Linked DNA regions of Homo sapiens: region 2 is linked to region 1. The links are contacts of gene promoters, found by promoter capture Hi-C in blood cells and fetal thymus (Javierre and others, 2016). All regions are on one chromosome and are shown on one strand. Each heading gives the region's core, a stretch centred on a gene start or on the middle of the fragment in contact. The rest is flanking DNA. Distances are from core to core; before and after follow the strand shown. Region 1 holds the start of PITPNA (phosphatidylinositol transfer protein alpha). Region 2 overlaps YWHAE (tyrosine 3-monooxygenase/tryptophan 5-monooxygenase activation protein epsilon).

The links. Contacts are between HindIII fragments. The CHiCAGO score rates a contact against its expected background, and 5 or more counts as called.
Region 2: a fragment that was not itself captured here is called in contact with the fragment with the promoter of PITPNA in region 1 in 5 of 17 cell types (erythroblasts, megakaryocytes, naive B cells and 2 more); the score reaches 7.2 in erythroblasts.

The regions. Positions count from the first base shown.
Region 1 is chr17:1,560,435-1,564,385 of GRCh38, reverse strand. It overlaps PITPNA (phosphatidylinositol transfer protein alpha), which reads left to right and starts at 1,594. Exons shown (of 12, transcript NM_006224.4): 1 at 1,594-1,845. The coding sequence starts at 1,826. RefSeq lists silencers at 1,422-1,701, 1,772-1,821, 2,302-2,431 and enhancers at 1,274-1,773, 2,542-2,641, 3,556-3,951. The HindIII fragment of the contact is 8,315 bases long and covers 1-2,733 here.
Region 2 is chr17:1,342,420-1,345,990 of GRCh38, reverse strand. YWHAE (tyrosine 3-monooxygenase/tryptophan 5-monooxygenase activation protein epsilon) reads left to right here. Exons shown (of 6, transcript NM_006761.5): 6 at 492-1,716. The coding sequence ends at 544. Among named protein-coding and RNA genes, the nearest start is that of YWHAE, 56 kb to the left of the region's middle. The HindIII fragment of the contact is 491 bases long and covers 1,937-2,427 here.

The sequences.
Region 1 (3,951 bases), core at 345-2,844:
CACTGGAGTCATTACCTGCCCCCATGCCAGCCTGTCTTGCCTGTGTTCTCAGAGAAGACAGTACCGTCCACCCCGGCTCCCAGGCCAGAGACCTCGCTGCTTTTCTCTCCTCCTCTCAGCCAATGAGTCAACAAGTCTCACGGAGTTTACCTTCTGAGTTGCTCCTGAATCCATCCCTTCCTTTTCTTCCCTCCCACTGTCCTAGTCCACCTGCACCTGGACATCTGCAGCAGCCTCCTCGCCGGTCTCCCTGCCTACGCTCTGGCATTCCATCCCCTCTGTCCACCCAACCACTAGAGTGAGCCTTCGCCCAGGACACCCGCTCATGTCACTGCTCAGAGCCCTTACATGCCCTCCCACCGCCCTTAGGGTGGACTCCAAATACCTTATCATCGTTCACCAGGAACCCTCCCCTATTGAGCTGCTCAGCCCTGAAATGTTCTGTTCCACTCACTTGTCAGTTCTCCAAATGCACCATGCTCTCCCTCTTGCCTCCAGCCTTTGCATTCACTCTGCCTGCTATGCTCTTCTCCGAAGCCCTCTGCAGATCTGAGAATCTCTTCCTCCAGGAAGCCTTCCCTGACTACATCCCTGACGCTCAATTAGGTGCCCCTCCGTGTAATGCCGCTAAGCCTGTGTCTCATTTCTCACAGCCCTTTTCATTCTTTTTTTTTTTTTTTTTTTTGATGCAGAGTCTCGCTCTGTCGCCCCAGCTGGAGTGCAATGGTGCGATCTCGGCTCACTGCAACCTCCGCCTCCAGGGTTCAAGCGATTCTCCTGCCTCATCCTCCCGAGCAGCTGGGACTACCACCACCACGTCCACCACCACGCCCGGCTAATTTTTGTACTTTTAGTAGAGATGGGGTTTCGCCATCTGGTCTGGAACTCCTGACCTCAGGTGATGCGCCCGCCTGAGTGCTGCATTACAGGCATGATGTGCCTGGGATTACTGCCAGGAGCCACCGCGCCCGGCCTCACAGCCCTTTTCTTTTCTTTTTTTTTTTTTTGAGACGAAGTTTCACTCTTGTCCCCCAGGCTGGAGTGCAATGGCGCGATCGCGATCTCGGCTCACTGCAAACTCTGCCTCCCGGTACAAGCGATTCTCCCGCCTCAGCCTCCCGTGTAGCTGGGATTACAGGTGCGTGCCTCCACGCCCAGCTAATTTTTGTATTTTTAGTAGAGACGGGGTTTCATCATGTTGGCCAGGCTGGTCTCGAACTCCTGACCTCAGGTGATCCGCCCGCCTCGGCCTCCCAAGGTGCAAGGATTACAGGCGTGGGCCACCGCGCGCGGCTATTAATATTTTTTGAAACAACCTTTTCCTGGGTCTCAATTCCCTCAACCGGGGAGGCCCCCCAGCCAGCACCCGCGTGCATCCGTGGCGGTTCACACCGAGGACGGTGACGGACACCCTAGTCTGCTCCGCCTTCTGCCGGGTCTGGCCCCAGCCGCGGGGCCCCACCTCGGAACCGACAGCGCCGCCGCGGCCCACTTAAGGACGGGAGGGCGGGCCTGGGAAGGCTCGGCCCCGCGTGACGTCAGCGCGCACCGCGGCGTGTGACGCTCTGGTTGCCGCAGAGACGCCCCGCCCCCGCGCGGCGCTGCGGAACCGGAGCTCCGGGCGGCGTCGGCAGCGGCGCGAGAGGCGACGAGGCCCGGGCGGCAGGAGCCGGCGCGGCGACCGCGGCGAGGGCGGCGGGGACGGAGCAGAGCACGACGAAGACGCACAGGCAGCCGGGCCGGGCCGGGCCACGGGGAGAGCGGCCGGCGGGCAGCGGGCGGGAGGCCGGGCGGGCCGCGGGCAGCCACCGAGCCGCGAAGCGACATGGTGCTGCTCAAGGAGTAGTGAGTGTCCGGCGGCCGTGCGGAAGCGGGGAGGAGGGAGGGTGGGGACGGCCGCCGGGGCGACGGCGCGGCGAGGGACGCAGGGCCCGGATGGACGGAGGGGCAGCAGGGACGGAGGGTGCCTGAGGCGGGCCCAGCGGGGATGGAGGGGATCCGGGGCGGGCGGCACGTGAGGCGGGGCCCACGGGGCACGGAGGGGCGGCCGGGGCGTGGAGGGGCGGCCGGGGCGTGGAGGGGCAGCCGGGGCGTTCGGCATCTGAGCCGGGGCCCACGGGGCATGGACGGGCAGCCGGGGCATGGAGGGGCCCACGGGCACGGAGGGACAACCCGGGCGGACGGCTCCTCAGGCGCCCCGGGGGCCTCGGAGGCCCAAGTGGACCCGAGGAGAGGCCGGGGACAGCGAGGGCGAGGCCAGGCCCGAGACGGGGTCAGGGCAGGGAGAGCTGGCCCGGGACTGGGGGAGGCCGAGGGGACGCCGAGCGCTGGGAGTGCTGTGGGGTCGCTCTGCGCGGGCCGAGGGCGCGGGCTCAGCCGGGACTGCAGGCGGCGCTGAGAGGCCCCGCGGCGGCCGAGGAAGAGGCGCACCGGGGCAGGCAGGGCCTCCCGGCGGTGGGGAAAGGTGGAGGGCCGAACAGTTCACACGGAGAGCCGGGTGGATGGGTCAGAGGCTCCGCGATGGAGTTGGGATGGGGATGGGGAGGAGTGGCCGCCTTAGGCATCGGGTGAGGGGTGGTGGTAAGTGGACACAGGAGGAGGACTAGGAAGTCAGGGCCTGGCTGGGGAGACAGGTGAAGGGTCTGAGGACATGCAGAGGGGGCTGAGATGCGGGCCGGAGTAACCGTGGTGCCCAAGCAGCTGGTGCGGAAGAGGAGGCTTTTGGAACAAGCTTGGGATGACTGCTTGGGACGTGGGGAGACTTGGGCGAGGAGGCCAGAAAATGTTGGGTAGGGTCCGAAGTGGAGAAGGCCGGGAAGTTACCGGGGTCGAGGCTGGTCCGGAAAGAGAGTATGTTGGGATGAGTATACCTGCCGTTGGAGATGGGGGAGACCAGGGCAGGGCCAGCTTGTTTCTAGGGGATTCTCAGTCTTGGTGCAAAGAGATGGGGAAATTCTTTGAGGAATTGAGGGGTCCATGGAGCCGTGAACTGAGGAGAGATGGTGGAAGGGGTGGGGAGCTCTTGAGTAGTGAAGAGGGGTGCGTGGGAAACTGGTGACTTCTGGAAGGAGTTGCAGGATGACGGGTTTGCTCCTGAAATCCAGGGGACTGGGGGACAGGTGGAGATGTTTGGTGTGCTAAATCTTTCAAGTACAAGATGAGCCATCGTTGAAGCTCAGGGTTCCAAGTAAGCATCACAGGACATTTTTCTCCCCAAAGAGGAGAGATAGGATGGGTGTGTGTGTGTGTGTGCGTGTGCGTGTGTGCACAGAATTTACAGTGAAACTGCTTTCCTGGAGGGAGGGCCAGAAGCCCCAGGAGTGGGAGATGGTCAAACAGAGAGCAACTTGTGAGGCAGCCAGGCAGGTGTGCAGAGAGCTCTTGCCACTTTGTCAGCGATCGCACTTTGACCATCCCCACCAGGCTGGCTCCTTGGAGGTGCTTAGGACATTTAGGACATAGAGTGGAGTTTGGGTAACAGAGGGAGCTGAGACCCACATGTCATCCCAGCTAAACACCTCATCTGAAGAGCATTATTTTGAGGCCTCATCCCCTCTGTTTCTTGACATCCAGTCTGATGTTAATTCAGCCAGGGCTCGGAGCTTTTCCTGGTGAGGAGGAAGAACTTTACGATGCCAACAGGAGAACGTGGTGCACTTTAGATTTTAATCTTCAGTGTCCAGACTGACAGGCTTTTCCCATCCTTCTGATTCTTTTTCCTGTTCCCAAATGAACCCTAGAATCTGTAGAAATCTGTGGTTTTGAAATGAAGGTCAGGCAGGGAAAGGAAGGGACCTTCAGAGGAGATCTGAGTGAGGTTTGAAGAGAGGCACTCCTTCCCTGTCTTTGTTCTCCTCCCCTTGAAGCCTGCAAGGGAAAAGTCCAAGGTGCCGGAGATGCAGGGCCTGCCTGGTATCTGCGTTTCCTTCCTGCCCGACTCGTGCCCCGTGT
Region 2 (3,571 bases), core at 933-3,432, 220 kb after region 1:
CACAATAAAATACGATAGAACTTCTTGGCAACAGTTTATTGCTCAGTTAACTATTTTGAAGCATTTCTGATAATTAGCTTGTGGGTAAATTAGATTTTGCAAAAAGTTTGCAAAATACTCTTGATTCTTGAAGAGGTGAGGTTATTGAGAAAGAGTATTTTGACCCAAGATTTATGTGAAAGCTTGAATGTCATTTTAGTAAGATGGTTTCCTTGGCTGTCTACGTCAAGAGCTTATTTAGCGTAAAAACATTGAGTTGTACTGCGCATCAGTTTTTTTCATTCTGTTGACCAATAAATACTTTCAGGACCATAATCCCTTCTTGGCTTAGGCATCTCAGGTGTCAAGGATGATAGAAGTCCTTTGCCTGCGTTTAATACCAATTGTAGCAAGTAGAAGAGTCTTTATGCTTGGAATGACACCTTTGTTTGTGGCTGCCATAGCCTAATGTAGTCAATACGAAATAATTGACTTTTTTTCTTTTTTAACAGGTGAAGAGCAGAATAAAGAAGCGCTGCAGGACGTGGAAGACGAAAATCAGTGAGACATAAGCCAACAAGAGAAACCATCTCTGACCACCCCCTCCTCCCCATCCCACCCTTTGGAAACTCCCCATTGTCACTGAGAACCACCAAATCTGACTTTTACATTTGGTCTCAGAATTTAGGTTCCTGCCCTGTTGGTTTTTTTTTTTTTTTTTTAAACAGTTTTCAAAAGTTCTTAAAGGCAAGAGTGAATTTCTGTGGATTTTACTGGTCCCAGCTTTTAGGTTCTTTAAGACACTAACAGGACTACATAGAGGCTTTTTCAGCATTACTGTGTCGTCTCCGTGCCAGATGTGGCAAGATCACCATTAGCAAATGGAAATTACATTTGAAAGCCATTAGACTTATAGGTGATGCAAGCATCTAAGAGAGAGGTTAATCACACTATAGAGGCATAAGTGGTATCAGTTTTCATTTTTCTAATTGTTTAAACTGTGTTTTATACCAGTGTTTGCAAGTAATTGGGTGTTAGCTTGAGATGGTTAAAGGTGGTTTGGGGAGGGACTTCGTTGTAATGGTTTTGCTGTAAAAAATGTTTCCAACTCCGCTGAAATGTTGCTGAAAAGCATGGTGCTGGTAACAGTTCAACAATCCGTGGCTGCTCATTCTTGCCTACTTTACTCTCCCACTGAAGCAGGTTAGCGTTGAAGGTGGTATGGAAAAGCCTGCATGCCTGTTCAATTCTTTTGTTTCTTCTCCTTCCCCCTCCCCCTACCTCCTTCCCCTCACTCCTCCCCTCCTTCGCTCGCTCAACCTCTTTTGTTCAGTATGTGTAACTTGAAGCTAATTTGTACTACTGGATATCTGACTGGAGCCACAGATACAGAATCTGTATTGTTCTTACTGAAACACAGCATGGAATTAACATTAAACTTAAATAAAACAAACCTAAATTAAAAATGCCAAATATCGCGCCTCCATCCTTTATACTTCTAAAATAAAATCTCTAGTCCAAACACACTGACAGTATTATGTTTGCCTGAATGTGAAACATTCCTCCTTTTTTCTTCCATAAATAATTTGTTTGCTTCCCAAAGATGTATGTTTTGGAAAAAAATTGCCTGTAGTCTGGTTGTGAAGAACACTGAGTCAGTTGATGGTGTGTCTTGTCCTCCAGACCAGGCAGCAACATGGTATTTATTTTAATCATTAAAGTACAACATGAGTAGTACAAGGTGTAATTATGGATCATTTTCTAGCATAGTATTTCATACAACCAAATAAGGCTGAATGTCTTATAATAATTCTTAGAGGTAAAAACTGTGTGCCCTCTTCCTCCAGAGGCTAGTGGCAGTAGTGGAGAATTACTCAATCCTTTCTTAGTAATCCATACACACATTATAGACAGCAGGATAGCAGTCTCCCTTTCCAGAAACACTGTATAAGAAGCTTCTTTCCATAAACAGTTTATACATCAATGTGTATAGATACCTAGTTACTGTAGATCTTTTTATGTTAGGCATTCAGATGTGTCTCATTCTGACTGCGTAACATTGATGTACACCTGATTTTGTTAAGACCAGTTTGCTCCTTTTGGGCAGGTGCTGCAGGAAATACCCTTGGAACAGTTTTTGCTTAAATATTTGTATGTATCTGGAAGGTACATTTCTAGATTCCCTGTGTCAGTAAACATTTTTCAGTTGATAAATCCTTCCTCGTCACACTTGTCTTCTAAAATTGGATGTTGAGACTGCAAGTTTACTCTCGGTTTAAAGTGTTAGTAGCAGAGATTTAGGAAATGAACAGATCAGCGATATCCTAGTAGCGTTTAGTGAGTGCTGGCAATGAGAATAAACATGTTTTTGTGAGTTGCTTTTCCGAGAGATAGGGAGACCATTGAATATAATTATATGCTGCTGTTTGGAGCAACCTCCAAGAAGCTTTCAAGTTGATTTGCTCTGTTTCCAGCACACCTGCTACACTTAAAGGTCAAAATCCAAGGAATTCGTCAAGTCTGTTGCAGAGTTTAAAGAAACCACTCGGCTGGGTGCGGTGGCTCACACCTGTAATCCCTGCAATTTGAGAGGCCGAGGCGGGCGGATCACGAGGTCAGGAGATTGAGACCATCCTGGCTAACACGGTGAAACTCCGTCTCTACTAAAAGTACAAAAAATTAGCCAGGCATGGTGGCGCACGCCTGTACTCCCAGCTACTCGGGAGGCTGAGGCAGGAGAATCGCTTGAACCCGGGAGGCAGAGGTTGCAGTGAGCCGAGATCACGCTACTGCACTCCAGCCTGGGCGACAGAGTGAGACTGTCTCAAAAAAAAAAAAAAGGAAAGATCCTTATCAAAAATTGAAAGGCCGGGTGCGGTGGCTCACGCCTGTAATCCCAGCACTTTCGGAGGCCGTGGTGGGTGGATCACGAGGTCAGCAGTTAAGAGACCAGCCTGGACAACATGGGGAAACCCTGTCTCTACTAAAAATACAAAAAAATTAGCCAGGCGTGGTGGCGGGCGACCTTGCTGGGTGTAATTAACATCCAGTGACTTGGGAGGCCTGAGGCAGGACAATCGCTGGAAACTGGAAGGCGGAGCTTGCAGTGAGCCAAGATCGCGCCACTGCACTCTAATCTGGGCAATAAGAGCAGAACTCCGTCTCAAAAAAAAAAAAAAAAAAAAAAAATTGAAAGGGAGCCAGGGAAGCTGCAGAAAGGTGCCGTAGCCCTGTGAGGACGGTGTCACTCCCAGTTCCTGTATTTGTGGGCTGGAAAGGGAATTGCCCCCAAACTTTTCTGGTTTTGATTTGAGTCTTACTTTGAGGATCAGTCGACTTAAGTAGAAGTTTTTAGTTAGTTACAACTTGAATGTAGCTAATATGTGTTTTTAATTACAAATCTCAGTACTTTGCTGCCTTGGAAAACCCAAAGGCTTCCTACAATGTTAGAAGCGACAGTAAGTGGGTTTGTGTACATGCTCTGTTCCGGGTGGGTCCTCAGAACAGCACGTCTGCAAAGTTAAATTTCGGTCCTATAGGAAGATGGGGATGAACTTCCATCACTGAAAGGGGAAACTGGTGGGATAAATGG